Linked DNA regions of Homo sapiens: region 2 is linked to region 1. The links are contacts of gene promoters, found by promoter capture Hi-C in blood cells and fetal thymus (Javierre and others, 2016). All regions are on one chromosome and are shown on one strand. Each heading gives the region's core, a stretch centred on a gene start or on the middle of the fragment in contact. The rest is flanking DNA. Distances are from core to core; before and after follow the strand shown. Region 1 holds the start of TMEM94 (transmembrane protein 94). Region 2 overlaps ITGB4 (integrin subunit beta 4).

Region 1 (7,797 bases), core at 3,530-6,029:
TTTTCTGAGACGGAGTCTTGCTCTGTCACCCAGGCTGGAGTGCAGTGGCGTGACCTCAGCTCACTGCAAGCTCCGCCTCCTGGGTTGACACCATTCTCCTGTCTCAGCCTCCCAAGTAGCTGGGACTACAGGCACTCGCCACCACGCCCGGCTAATTTTTTTTTTGTATTTTTAGTAGAGACGAGGTTTCACCGTGTTAGCCAGGATGGTCTCGATCTCCTGACCTCGTGATCCGCTCGCCTCGGCCTCCCAAAGTGCTGGGATTATAGGCGGGAGCCACCGCGCCCGGCCTAGGCAGAAGGCTCTTGCCGATGGAGCAAGCTGAACATGGGAACTACCTGTTCAAGAATCAACGGCTCAGATAATTTCACCAGGCCTCACATTGCAAGTATCCTCAGTCCCGACCCCGAATGCCAGCCTCTGTCTTCATCCATTGCTATCTCCCTCCAAACCTTTCCCCTGTGTGATTCGAAGCCCATTATTTCTTTTTTATTATATACTTTTTTCTCTTTTGAAAAATTTTTTAATAGAGAAGGCATCTCGCTATGTTCCCCAGGTGGGTCTTGAACTCCTAGGCTCAAGCAATCTGCCCACCTCTGCCTCCCAAAGTGCTGGAATTACAGGCATGCAGGCATGAGCCACCGGACCCAGCTCCCTTTTTTTCTTTTCTTTTTTTTTGAGATGGAGTCTTGCTTTGTCACCCAGGCTGCAGTGCAGTGGAGCTATCTCGGCTCACTGCAACCTCCACATCCCAGCTTCAAGTGAGTTTCCCACCTCAGCCTCCGGAGTAGCTGGGATTACAGGTGCCCACCACCACGCCCAGCTAATTTTTGTATTTTTGTACAGACAGGGTTTCACCATGTTGGCCAGGCTAGTCTTGAATCCCTGAACTCAGGTGATACACCCACCTCAGCCTCCCAAAGGACTGGGCTTACAGAAGTGAGCCACTGCACCCAGCCTACTCCTGTTACTTTTAAACAAATGACTAGGTTGAAAAGATGGCTGCCAGGTGCGGTGGCTCACGCCTGTAATCCCATCACTTCGGAAGGCCAAGGTGGGTGGATCACGAGGTCAGGAGTTCAAGACCAGCCTGACCAACATGGTGAAACCCCATCTTTACTAAAAATACAAAAATTAGCCGGGCATGGTGGCACATGCCTGTAATCCCAGCTACTGGGGAGGCTGAGGCTGGAGAATCACTTGAACCCTGGAGGCGGAGGTTGCAGTGAGCCAAGATCGCGCCACTGCACTCCAGCCTGGGTGATAGAGCGAGACTCAGTCTCAAAAAAAAAAAAAAAAAAAAGAAAGGTGCAATGAGGAAGGATGCTCAGGTCAGGGTGTGGGAGGACCTTGCCCTGCTTGTGTGTGATTCTGCACGTCATTCCTGGCTCAACAGCCTGAATGAGTCCTGCTGGATCACTCTCGTTTCTGACTCACTTCTCATATCTCTGTTTAGATGAAGGGAAATCTTATAGATAAACAAGAGTGTTTTCTCGCTGATGCTTTGTCCAGTACTATGCTCTAAATTGGCCTTGACCAGGTAATCTGGAGCTGGCAGAGGTAGCTTCTGTCATTGTAACTCAGATGATATGAGATCTGAGGTGCAGAAATCGAGTTATCCCTTCCTCCTTCACCCTAAACCTTAAGTCCAGCCACTAGACTGTGCCTGTTCTACCTGCTAACTATCTCTTGAACACATTTCTTCTTCTTTTTTTTTTTTTTTTTTTTTTTGTGAGACGGAGTCTTGCTCTGTCACCCAGGCTGCAGTGCAGTGGCGCGATCTTGGCTCACTGCAACCTCCGCCTCCTGGATTCAAGTGATTCTCCTGTCTCAGCCTCCCGAGTAGCTGGGACTACAGGCATGCACCACCATGCCCTGCTAATTTTTGTATTTTTTGGTAGAAACAGGGTTTCACCATATTGGCCGGGCTGGTCTCGAACTCCTGACCTCAGATGATCTGCCCGCCTCAGCCCCCTAAAGTGCTGTGATTACAGGCGTGAGCCACCGTGCCCAGCAGTGTTAGTGTAGTTTATGTGTGGCCCAAGACAATTCTTCTTCCAACATGGCCCAGGGAAGCCTAAAGATTGAACACTCCTGAGCTAAGGGAAATGGCATGTAAGGCTGGAGGGGGAGGGACTGAGAACACAGATGGGGAAAAGGAGGAAAAGGCTGTCTTCCTGCAGGAACATAGAAAGGGAAAGAGAAGTGGATGAAGTAGATGAGAAATCTCCAAGGGAAGGCCTTGGTCTTCTTCTCAATAGACTCATCTTGGTACTCATCTGAAGACACGGGAAGCTTCAGAAAAATGAAGAAGGATTGGTATAGCTGCTTGGGGTTGCTAGACAACCAACAAGACTTGGTTAAGGGACCTCAGATCTGCAAAGCTAATTCAGGGTGAATTTAGAGTGGGCACATTGGCATGTTCTGGCTTGAGTGATTTGATTTACTCATGTAGCAAAATTTTATGGCTGAGGGGACTGACAGAGGAAGTGGTCAGGCAGATGGAGAGTTGCAGAGCCCTTGAAACTAGCAGGCATTCAGTGCAATTTCATTGAGTGATATTCATAAAACCCAGTGGAGCTGAAAAACCAGTGTGGCCAGAGGGGGCTGAGAGGTTCAAAGTGAAGTGACTGTGCTACATTTGTTAATCTTCCAAAGGCAGCCAACTAGATCTTAAGGGGTCAAGTGGAAAGATGTAATATATAGGTAGCCTGCTAGCTCAATTCAACAAATGTTAATGGATACAAGGCAGCAAGTAAGGTGCTGTGGAAACTGCTAAGATAAGCCAGCTGCCCGCAGGGAGTTTGAGGTCTTACAAAAAGAGCAATGCTGTATAAAGCAGACTTTTGCAAAGGTGGCAATGCAGACACAGAGAAGGAGGCCCAGCATTATATATAGAGAGAGTCAATGACTAAAACCCAGGGAGAGGCTGGGAGTGGTGGCTCACACTTGCGATCCCAGCATTTTGGGAGGCTGAGGCAGGAGGATTGCTTGAGGCCAGGAGTTTGAGACTAACCTGGGCAACATAGCAAGACCCCATCTCTATAAAAAATAAAAAAATTAGCTGGGTGTGGTGGTTCGCACCTGTAGTCCTAGCTACTCAGGAGGCTGAGGTGGGAGGATTGCTTGAGCCCAGGTGTTCGAGGCTGCAGTGAGCTATGATGGCACCACTGCACTTGCCAGACTGGGTGACAGAGTGATACCCTGCTCTAAAAATAAATAAATATGTACATACATACAAGAAAAAATAAAAGTCAAGAAAGGTAGCATTTGAGGTGGGCCTTTAGGTTGATTAAGTATTTATTTGCATGCTGGCTTTACTGATAAGAAAGAACCGTCAGGCTGGGTGCGGTGGCTCACGCCTGTAATCACAGCACTTTGGCAGGCCGAGGCAGGTGGATCACCTGAGCTCAGGAGTTTGAGACCAGCCTGGCCAACATGTTCAAACCCTGTCTCTACTAAAAATACAAAAATTAGCTGGGTATGGTGGCAGGCACCTGTAATCCCAGCTACTCCGGAGGCCGTGGCAAGAGAATCACTTGAACCCGGGAGGTGAAGGTTGCAGTGAGCCGAGATCAAGCCATTGCCCTCCAGCCTAGGCGACAAGAGCGAAACTCCGTCTCAAAAAAAAAAAGAAAAAAAGAACCTTTAAAGCAAAGCGTAGGGAACCAACCATGTGACGAAGGAGCAGAGGTGGAAAGGTCTCTGTCACGTTTAAAGAATGGTGGTTAATCTATGTGGCTGCAGGAATAGTTTAGCCTGTGGGGACTTAGACCTGGAAACGTATGTCTGAGTCAATTTATGAAGGACTTTGAACATCAGGCAGAAAGATTTGGACCTATTTGCAAAGGTGAACTATCAGTTTTTGTGTGCAGGTTAGTGACATGATTCTTATGGCGTTTTAGGCAACAGCTAAACTGGGTCATACAAGATTAGGTACTAAAATGCCATCTTCTTGTCCAGCTGAGAAAGGGATTTTAATTACGTAATTAAACTCATGAATGTGGGAAGGGGCTCTTACTTCACAAGGCCAACCTCAGCTCTTTCCCAATTATATAAACAAGTTTTTGTTTGTTTTTTTGTTTTTGTTTTTTTTAAACAAGCCTTCCAGACTTAGATCTCTGGGAAAAGAGAAGTAAATACTGACACAGGCTTGCTTTGTTTTCCCAAGAGAGGTCTCCCAGGCGATTTATCTAATTACCTAGAAAAAAAATTTAACTTGTTTTTCCCTTTAGATTTCAGCCGAGCTGGAAGCGGGAGGGGGGAATTGCAGTATTGCCTTAGATTTTCTAGATTTGGTTTGGACGCAATATTCGTCCTGAGGGAGTCCCTCCAAGGCCTCTCGGAGCGGGCAGCCTCTAGGCATTTGTTCAAGGCAACAAGGAGGGAGCTTAGAAGAACTTAAGAGAGGCGGGGAGCTCTGCAAAGGGCTTATTTTAAAAAGAAAGGGAAAAAAGGTGGGGCGCGCCGTCTATCTTTTTAGAATAATTCTGTAGGAAAACGAATCGGAGGTAAAGCCATGCCCTCTGGTCAGGGTTTCTGGACTAGAAACTGCCTGAGCTTTACGCACAGGAAAGGACAGTGGCTCTTCACTCTCCCGGCCGCATCACTCGGCACCTAATTCCGCCAGGCTCCCAGAGGGGCGGTTGCAGCTACAGCCTAGCACGCCGCGTAGCCAATAAGAAGCCAGAATTCCCCCTATTCTCAAATCCTGACCAATCGGTGGCCTGAACTTTAGCTCTCTGGCCGGCGCCTCTGTTGCCCGGAAGGGAGGCAAGCCCCCTTAGAGTTGCCAGTAACGGACATGGCTGCGGCCCCCGGAGGAGGGGACGTGAAGTGAGGAGGGGGTTGGGAGGGGAGAGGACGCGGGCGAGGAAGACCAGCCCCGGGGCCCCGGTAAGTACGAGAAGGCCCGTGGCCCGAAAGTGGGGAGCAAGGGGGCGTGGGGCTCGGCCTTGCGCGTCCTTTGGATTCTTGGCCAAGGAAAGGGGAGTCTGGGGTCTGCACCCAGAGAACGGCTTAAGGGGATGCCTCCTGAGGGGGAGTCCAGGGACTGGCTCTAGTCTCCAGCTCTTGACCATTGCCTTCCCCCGAGTCTTCAGACTCTTGCTCTCAGCCCTGGATTGGTCCATTGTGGGGTCTCTCGCCAGAAATAAAGCCTCTCGCCAACAAAGAATCCCTGCCCCAGGTCTGTCGTGCCTAGGCCCTGGCCCAGAGGGCTCCCAACGCCGACGCCCTGAGTATTTATTTCGAGGCCCCTGGGAGTCCTCATCCCCGACCTAAATAAAGACCGTTGTCCCGCCTGCGCGCGCTCTCCGCAGCCGCCCGGGGTCCTCGCGCGGCCGTCCCCAGCTGGATGGAGCCGGCCGAGGGGCTCCTGGCAGCCATCCCTGATCTTGCAGTTTGGAGCGGGCTTTTTTTTCTTTCCGCCTTTCCAGAAGCGTTTTCAGGCTCCTCGGAAGCTCACCATCCATGCCATCGGATAAAGTGACTCCTGTGGAATGCCCTCGTTCCTGTACCGCACACCCCTGGAGCCCAGGTCTCCTGGTTCCTAGCATGCCACGATGCGGCCCCTGCCCGCTGCCCAGCGCCAGATGCAAGCAAAGCCCCGCTCTTTCATTGGTGTGTCACCGCGGGCTAAACTTTGGCGTTGCCTTGGTCACGTGCTGCTACATCCCACCCTCTCTCCTGAGTTTTTCGGTGGCTCTTGAGGGAAAAAAGGAGGGAGCTCGTTATGGAATCTGTTTTCCTTCTGCTATGTGGGTGTATGCATTGGAGAGAAGGATCTTTTTCTCATGATTTATCCAAGACGCTCAGCTTTAGTGACATAGTTGTTATTCCGCAGGTAATCTTGGAAGATGGAAGCAGGGAGGGGGCAGTTTTAACATTTTCATTTTGCAGATGTGGAGATTGTTCGGAGAGGCAAGGCCAGGGTCACCTAGAGCCAAACTAGAATCCGAAAGTCCAGGGGCTTGAGTTCTTTATCCGCTAGACCTAGTTGTTTCCTAGGTGTGACCTGAGGAGATCAAGTTCCCTGACTCCCCTGAGCTCTTGCAGGGTGGCTCTGGGCATTAAAAGCGATGGGCATTAAAAGTAGGATCCTCCTATGCTTCCTGGCAATGACTAGGGTCTTCATACCTGGTTTGCATTCAGTAATTTTAAGAAGCCAGCAGGTAGTTCTCTGGCAGACTTCTTGTATTAATATTCATTGTAGTCTCTGTCTGTATTGGGGGCGTAAATTATTTTAGTGATTCTCAGGGCAGCGAGAGGCAGAGTAAGAGGAAGGTATGCCTCTTCCTTGGTTTTTGGGAACCATTACAGTGTCATTAGAGATGTTATTAACAGGAACGCGTTGCATACAGGAACAGCGTGGAGGCAGAAAAAGATTGAGAGCCATTGAAGAGAGAAGAAATGGCACTGTGGTATCTCTTTATAGTACTTTTGGCAAAAGAAGAGCTGATCTTGGTATTCTGAAGAGGTAGTTTAAAAAAAAAGTTAGATCCTGAGGCATAACTAAAAGAATACAAATAAATAAAAAAATTTAAAGCAATGGCACTAGTAAGGTTCAAAAGAGTCAAAGTAATGCCTGTAATCCCAGCACTTTGGGAGGCTGCTGTGGGAGGACTGCTTGAGCCCAGGAGTTTGAGATCAACCTGGGCAACACACTGACAAGAAAACCAAAAAAATTAGCTGGGCATGGTGGCATGTGCCTGTGTTCCCAGCTACTTGGGAGGTGGATGCCAGAGGATCGCTTGAGCCCAGAAGGTCGACGCTGCAGTGAGCTGTGATCATGCCACTGCACTCACTCTAGCCTGGGCAACAGAGCAAGACTCTGTCTCCAAAAAAAAAAAAAAGAGTCATGGAATCAAAAAGTTTGAAAATCACTGTAAAGATCAGAGCACATTAAAATGTAGACTATTGGCCGGGCGCAGTGGCTCACGCCTGTAATCCCAGCACTTTGGGAGGCAGAGGCAGGCGGATCACGAGGTCAGGAGATCAAGACCATCCTGGCTAACACGGTGAAACCCCATCTCTACTAAAAATGCAAAAAATTAGCTGGGTATTGTGGCGGGTGCCTGTAGTCCCAGCTACTTGGGAGGCTGAGGCAGGAGAATGGCGTGAACCCGGGAGGCAGAGCTTGCAGTGAGCCGAGATCGCGCCACTGCACTCCAGCCTGGGCGACACAGCGAGACTCCGTCTCAAAAAAAAAAAAACAAAAAAAACAAAAACAAATAAAATGTAGACTATGGTGGTTAACCCTAGAACAGGAGACAGCATGTTCAGATAAAATCCTCAAACATTGCAAGTCTTAGCTGCTATGTTAGCTCTAACTTCCTTGCTCACTGGTTCTCTTTGTCAAAACTGCAAACAGGGAAACTGGTGGATACTGTGGAGTAGTGCAATGACCAGGGAGGTGAAGTACAAACCATCTTCTTCATCATCAGCCCCCAAATAATTGAGAGTTAACTGCCCTTGAACCACCAGACCACCATGCCCCTTGTTTGTGGTGACTTGACATCAGATGAGACTGGGAGAGCCAGGCCTTGACAGTGAAATGGAAGAGAAACCCCATGGCATTTCTATTTTGAGAAGTTGCTAGGTGTGCCAGCTCCTAGTGCTGAGAACCAGCCTTTTGGAAACCTTAACTCCTGTAGAAACTAATGAGAAATGAAGGTTGTGATCGTCCTGTTCCTGCCTGCTGCTCTCTCCCTAAGTTGGGCTTGAGAAACAGTTTCTATAGGAGAGGGAGGAGTCCTAATGTAAATACCACCTACACCCAAGGCTGTATGTATTTAG
Region 2 (6,650 bases), core at 3,682-6,181, 290 kb after region 1:
AGGCACAAGCCACTGCGCCCGGCCCCTCATCTTTTTCTGGAAGGATTTTCCGTTTCGCTCCTGTGCCCTTCCCAGAGGGCAATGCATAGAGGGAACCAAGCGGACTCCTGGATTCTGGGCTGGGCTGGGCAGGGTCACAGGAGAGCAGGAGGTGGGAAGGGACTGGGCCCAGCACACTCTGACAAATGCCCGGGCTCCTTGCAGCCAGAGACGTGGTGTCCTTTGAGCAGCCTGAGTTCTCGGTCAGCCGCGGGGACCAGGTGGCCCGCATCCCTGTCATCCGGCGTGTCCTGGACGGCGGGAAGTCCCAGGTCTCCTACCGCACACAGGATGGCACCGCGCAGGGCAACCGGGTGAGGCTGCGCCACAGGGTCGAGGGTGCAGCCCGGGGGGCTGCGTGGGCACCGCATTGGGTTCCCAAGACAAAGCAGCACATGGCAGCTGCTTGAGTCCCTGGATACTGGCCGTGCCCCTGGCTGGCCTCCCAAGGACACGTCCACCTGCTCCTGCCACCCTGTGGCAGGGGAGTCTCACCTGCCCAGGGTGCCAGTGACACGCTGGATGAGGCTCCATTGCTGCCAGGGACTCAGGCCAAGAGGGCTCGCTCTTTTTTTTTTTTTTTTTTTTTTGAGACAGAGTTTCGCTCTTGTTGCCCAGGCTGGAGTGCAATGGCACAATCTCAGCTCACCGCAACCTCCACCTCTCGGGTTCAAGCGATTCTGCTGCCTCAGCCTCCCTAGTAGCTGGGATTACAGGCATGTGCCACCACGCATGTCTAATTTTGTGTTTTTAGTAGAGACGGGGTTTCTCCATGTTGGTCAGGCTGGTCTGGAACTCCCGACCTCAGGTGATCCGCCCGCCTTGGCCTCCCAAAGTGCTGGGATTACAGGCGTGAGCCACCGCGCCCGGCCCAAGAGGGCTCTTTCTTCCTTCATGGGCCAGGGACCTGCCCAGACCATTCCTGTCCCCTCCTACAACTCAGGATCCACAGGGTAGCCAAACCTCTTGGAGATAAACTCCCCCTATATGCCCCAGTCCAGGGGGCTTTGGGTTTCTTGAGCTGGGATCGAAGACCCCATGTCCCCAGGCCAGACTCCCCAAGGGCTGTCACAATTTGCCAAGCAGCAGGAGCAACCCTTCAAGGCAGGGAGTGCCATGGCTGGACCAGCATCACCTTCACTGCTGAGCCCCAGTGCTGGGGTACAGCCAAATCAGGTGGCACACAGGCTGGACTGGGTTTACAGGCTTCATAGTTTTGTTTCTTTTGTTTTGTGTGGGGATTTTTTGCTTCTTAATTTTTGGGGGAGACAGGGTCTTGCTATGTTGCCCAAGCTGGTCTTGAACTCCTGACCTCAAGTGATCCACCCACCTCGGCCTCCCAAAGTGCTGGGATTACAGGAGTGAGCTACCACGCCCGGCCTAGTTTTTGTATTTTTAGAAGAGATGGGGTTTTGCCATGTTGGCCAGGCTGGTCTTAAACTCCTGATCTCAAGTGATCCGCCCACCTCGGCTTCCCAAAGTGCAGGGATTACAGGTGTAAGCCAGTGCACCTGGCCTTTCTAGTTTTTAAATGTTGGCAACAAATCCATAATTAAAAACAAAGGCGGGGCATGGTGGCTCACACCTGTAATCCCAGCACTTTGGGAGGCTAAGGTGGGAGAATCACTTAAACCCAGGAGTTCAAGACCAGCCTAGGCAACGTGGTGAGACCATGTCTATACATATAATTTAAACATTAGCTGGGCATGGTAGTGCATACTTGTGGACCCAGCTACTTGGAAGGCTGAGGCAGGAAGATCACTTGAGGCCAGGAGGTTGAGGCTACAGTGAGCCATGTTCATGCCACTGTACTTCAGCCTAGGCAACAGAGTAAGACCCTGTCTAAAAAAATAATAATAATTAATTTTTTAAAAATCAAACAAAAAAACAAAGAAACAAAACCTGGCTCAGTGCAGTAGCTCATGCATGTAATCCCAACACTGTGGGAGGGCACAGTGGGAGGATCACTTGAGCCCAGGAGTTGCAGGCCAGCTTGGGCAACATAGTAAGACCCTGTCTCTATTTTAAAAAAATAATAATAATAATAAAGGCCAGGCGAGGTGGCGTATGCCTGTAATCCTAGCACTGTGGGAGGCCAAGGCAGGTGGATCGCCTGAGGTCACGAGTTCGAGACCAGCCTGGCCAACATGGTGAAACCCTGTCTCTACTAAAAATACAAAAATTAGCTGGGCATGGTGACACGTGCCTCTAATCCCAGCTACCCGGGAGGCCGAGGCAGGAGAATTGCTGGAAACCAGGAGGTGGAGGCTGCAGTGAACCGAGATCATGCCACTGCACTACAGCTTGAGCGACAGAGTGAGACTCTGTCTCGAAAAAAGAAAAAAAAAATTATCTCAAAAGTAATAAAGTCTCGCCTCCCTGGGCCCACAGGCCCATTCAGCAAACATAGGGGAGCGCGTAGTCAGCAGGCCCGGGCTGCCTGGCCACATCCTAATTTTATTTACTTCTTTTTATTGACAGGAACTGTTCTCATTATTTTTCCAATGTCCCCCCATAAAAATTCCAAAGAATAATTTTTTTCTTTTAAGAGACAAGGTCTCCCTCTAGTCCAGGGTGGAGTACAGGGGCACAGTCCTAGCTCTCTGCAATCTTGAACTCCTGGGCTCAAGCAGTCCTTCAACCTCAACCTCCCAAGTAGCTGGGACTACAGATGTCCACCACCGCACGGCTAATTTTGTATTTTTTTTTCTTTGAGACGGAGTCTCACTCTGTTGCCCAGGCTGGCGCGATCTCAGCTTACTGCAACCTCCACCTCCAGGGTTCAAGCGATTCTCCTGCCTCAGCCTCCCAAGTAACAGGGACTACAGGTGCGCACCACCACACCCAGCTAAATTTTGTATTTTTAGTAGAGACGGGGTTTCACCATGTTGGTCAGGCTGGTCTCGAACTCCTGACCTCGTGATCCGCCCACCTCAGCCTCCCAAAGTGCTGGGATTACAGGCATCAGCCACCGCGCCCGGCCATTTTATATTTTTAGTAGAGATAGGGTTTCGCCATGTTGCCCAGGCTGGTCTCAAACTCCTAGGATAACATGATCCTTTTGCCTTGCCTTCTGGCTACCCTGTTACACTTGTATAAAGATGCTTTGAGGCTGGGTACAGTGGCTCATGCCTGTAATCCCAGCACTTTGGGAGGCCAGGGCGGGCAGATCGCTTGAGATCAGGAGTTCAAGACCAGCCTGGCCAACATGGCGAAACCCTGTCTGTACCAAAAATACAGAAAATTATCTGGGTGTTGTGGTGTGCACCTGTGGTCCCAGCTACTCGGGAGGCTGAGGTAGAGCCCAGTAGGTGGAGGTTGCAGTTAGCCGAGATAGTGCCACTGCACTCCAGCCTGGGTGACAGAGTGAAACCCCTGTCTCAAAAAAAAAAAAAAAAAAAAAGCTTTGATATTTGTTTTTTAAAACATTTTAATTTCTCACCTTTTTATTTTTAAAAACTTCAACTTACAGAAAAATGGAAGGAACAGTAAAACTAGCACCCATTTACCCTTTACATAGATTCACCGATTGCTAATATTTGCTTTCTCTCTCTTTCTATATAGATAGCAACATAGAAATATAAATAGAGATGTGGACATCTGTATCTTCACATTGATTATACTAGTACCTAAAATTAGTCCATATTCCAGCCAGGCGTGGTGGCTCACACCTGTAATCCCAGCACTTTGGGAGGCTGAGGCAGGTGGATCACCTGAAGTCAGGAGTTTGACACCAGCCTGACCAACATGGAGAAACCCCATCTCTACTAAAAATACAAAAATTAGCCGGGCATGGTGGCACACGCCTGTAATCTCAGCTACTAGGGAGGCTGAGGCAGGAGAATCATTTGAACCCAGTGGGTGGAGGTTGCAGTGAGCCAAGATTGCGCCACTTCACTCCAGTCTGGGCAAAAGAGCAAAACTCCATCCCAAAAAATATATAAAATAAAATAAAATAGGTCCATATTCCAATGTCCCCTTGTTCGGATGTCCCAATAATGTCCTTTATAGCGTTTTTCCCCCCAATGCAGGAACTAATCAAGGATTTGGCATTGACTTTTGTCACGTGTCTTGACTCCTTTAATCTAGAAAAGTTTCCTGGCTTTGTCTTCCGTGACACTGACTTTTGTTAAGACAAGGTCTCGCTCTGTCACCCAGGCTGGAGTACAGTGCCTCACTGCAACCTCTGCCTCCCGGGTTCAAGCAATTCTCCTGCCTTAGCCTCCCGAGTAGCTGGGATTACAGGCACCGGCCACCATGCCGGGCTAATGACACTGACGTTTTTGAAGTATCCATGTAGGTTGCTTGCAGGCAGCTCCCTGGTTTGTTTTTTGTTTGTTTGTTTTACAACTATGGGTCTCACTTTCTGAGTTGGGTGGCATGAGGTTGCCTCCCCAGCCATCGCCCTGGCTGCTGCGCCTGGAATTGAAATCTTGCCCTGAAGTGCCACCTAGTGGTCTTCTATGTGAAGGATTTTCTTTTTCCTCCCAGTTCTTATCCTGGAAAGCTCAGGCATGCTCCACGGCACTGAAAGGAAGATGGGTGGCTCACGCCTGTAATCCCAGCACTTTGGGAGGCCAAGGTGGGCGGATCGCTTGAGGCCGGGAGTTCAAGACCAGCCTAGGCAACATAGGGTAACCGTGCCTCTACAAAAAAAAAAAAAAAAAAAATAGCCAGGTGTGGTGCACGCCTGTAGTCCCAGCTACTCAGGCGGCTGAGGGGAAGGATGGCCTGAGCCCAGGAGGTCAAGGCTTCAGTGAGCTGTGATTGTGCCCCTACACTCCAGCCTGGGTGACAGAGTGAGACCCTGTCTCAAAAACAAACAAACAAACAGAAACGTGGCTGGGCATGGTGGCTCATGTCTGTAATCCCAGCACTTTGGGAGGCCAAGGTGGGAGGATCACTTGAAGTCAGGAGTTCGAGACCAGCCTGGCCAACATAGTGAAACCCCATCTCTACTAAAAATACAAAAATTAGCTAGGCGTGGTGGCAGGTGCCTGTAATCCCAGCTACTCAGGAAGATGAGGTGTGAGAATCATTTGAACCTGGAAGGTGGAGGTTGCAGTAAGCCGAGATCATGCCACTGCACTCCAGCCTAGGTGACAGAGTGAGATTACGCCTCAAAAAAAAAAACAAACAAAAAAAACACAAAAACCTGAACCTCGTGTAAGTACTCCACCCAGCAAGCAGGGATGGTCTCTGCAGTGTCCATGAGGTTGGGAGGGAGCGTGTGGCCATGACTCTTGCCTCAGCCCCCAGCCATGACCCTGACCCTGACCCCCTCCACTCCCAGGACTACATCCCCGTGGAGGGTGAGCTGCTGTTCCAGCCTGGGGAGGCCTGGAAAGAGCTGCAGGTGAAGCTCCTGGAGCTGCAAGAAGTTGACTCCCTCCTGCGGGGCCGCCAGGTCCGCCGTTTCCACGTCCAGCTCAGCAACCCTAAGTTTGGGGCCCACCTGGGCCAGCCCCACTCCACCACCATCATCATCAGGGACCCAGGTAGGCAGAGCCTGGGGGTCGGCTTAAGCAGGAGGAGAGGGAAGACTGGGGGGTCTCTCAACTAGGTCTGTCAGACTTAGCAAATCCAAACACAGGACGCCCAGGTAAATCTGAATTTCAGGTAAACAACATACACGTTGGTAGGATAAGTATGTCCCATGCAATATTTGGAACATACTTATCCTTTTTTTTGCAAAATGGGCTGGGTATACTGGCTCACACCTGTAATCCCAGCATTTTGGGAGGCCAAGGTGGGAGGATCACTTGAGCCCAGGAGTTCTAGACCAGCCTGGGCAACATAGTGAGACCTCGTCTCTACAAAAAATAAACAAATTAGCTTGGCATAGTGGTGTGCACCTGCAGTCCCAGCTATTCCGGAGACTGAGGTGGGAGGATCACTTGAGCCCAGGGGGTCTGGGCCGCAGCAAGCTGTGATCGCACCACTGCACAGCACCTGGGCCATGGAATGAGATCCTGTCCCCCAAGAAAAAATAATCTTGTTGTTTATCTGAAATTCAAATGTAACTAGGCATCCTGCATTTTATCTGGCAACCCTACAGCTAGAGAGGCTGTTGTCACCACACAATAGGAATTCTCCCATCAGACCCTGGCCCTTTGGCTTCAGCCTCAATTCCAACTAACATGCAGATGCTTGTGGAAGGAAGGAGTGGGCCAGTTAGTTCCTATCAGCCCTCAGCCTCCCAACTGGGAGAAAGCCTGCCAGGAAGATGGGAGAGGAGGGAGATACTCAGGGTACAGTGTGGAGATGGGGTGGGGAGCAAATGTTCTCATGTGGAATGTTCCCTGAGCTGCCAAGGGAGAAAGGGGCAGACCAACTCCCTCCCGCTTCTGTTCCTCCAGAGACCCTCCTGGGTCCTCCGCCAAGCTTGGCAGGATGCTCTATGTGGCAGCAATGGGGCACCACCAGGTCTCCAGAGACGCGGGTGGGCAGGTCTGAGTTGAATGCGCTGGGTAGAGCGCCCTGGGTGTTGAAGTGGGTCTCTGGCGCCCCCTGGTGGTGAAGGGGGATCTGAGTGGTTGCCCGGCCCCAACCTGACCCGTTAGATGAACTGGACCGGAGCTTCACGAGTCAGATGTTGTCATCACAGCCAC

What was found. The method cuts DNA at HindIII sites, captures the fragments that hold promoters and counts their contacts. A CHiCAGO score of 5 or more calls a contact.
Region 2: a fragment that was not itself captured here is called in contact with the fragment with the promoter of TMEM94 in region 1 in 7 of 17 cell types (endothelial precursors, naive CD4 T cells, M2 macrophages and 4 more); the score reaches 6.6 in endothelial precursors.

The regions. Positions count from the first base shown.
Region 1 is chr17:75,451,856-75,459,652 of GRCh38, forward strand. It overlaps TMEM94 (transmembrane protein 94), which reads left to right and starts at 4,780. Exons shown (of 32, transcript NM_014738.6): 1 at 4,780-4,896. RefSeq lists enhancers at 1,253-1,547, 4,477-4,526 and a silencer at 4,677-4,836. The HindIII fragment of the contact is 5,875 bases long and covers 2,294-7,797 here.
Region 2 is chr17:75,743,509-75,750,158 of GRCh38, forward strand. It overlaps ITGB4 (integrin subunit beta 4), which reads left to right. Exons shown (of 40, transcript NM_000213.5): 26 at 205-353; 27 at 5,333-5,537; 28 at 6,603-6,650. Among named protein-coding and RNA genes, the nearest start is that of GALK1, 18 kb to the right of the region's middle. The HindIII fragment of the contact is 2,980 bases long and covers 3,442-6,421 here.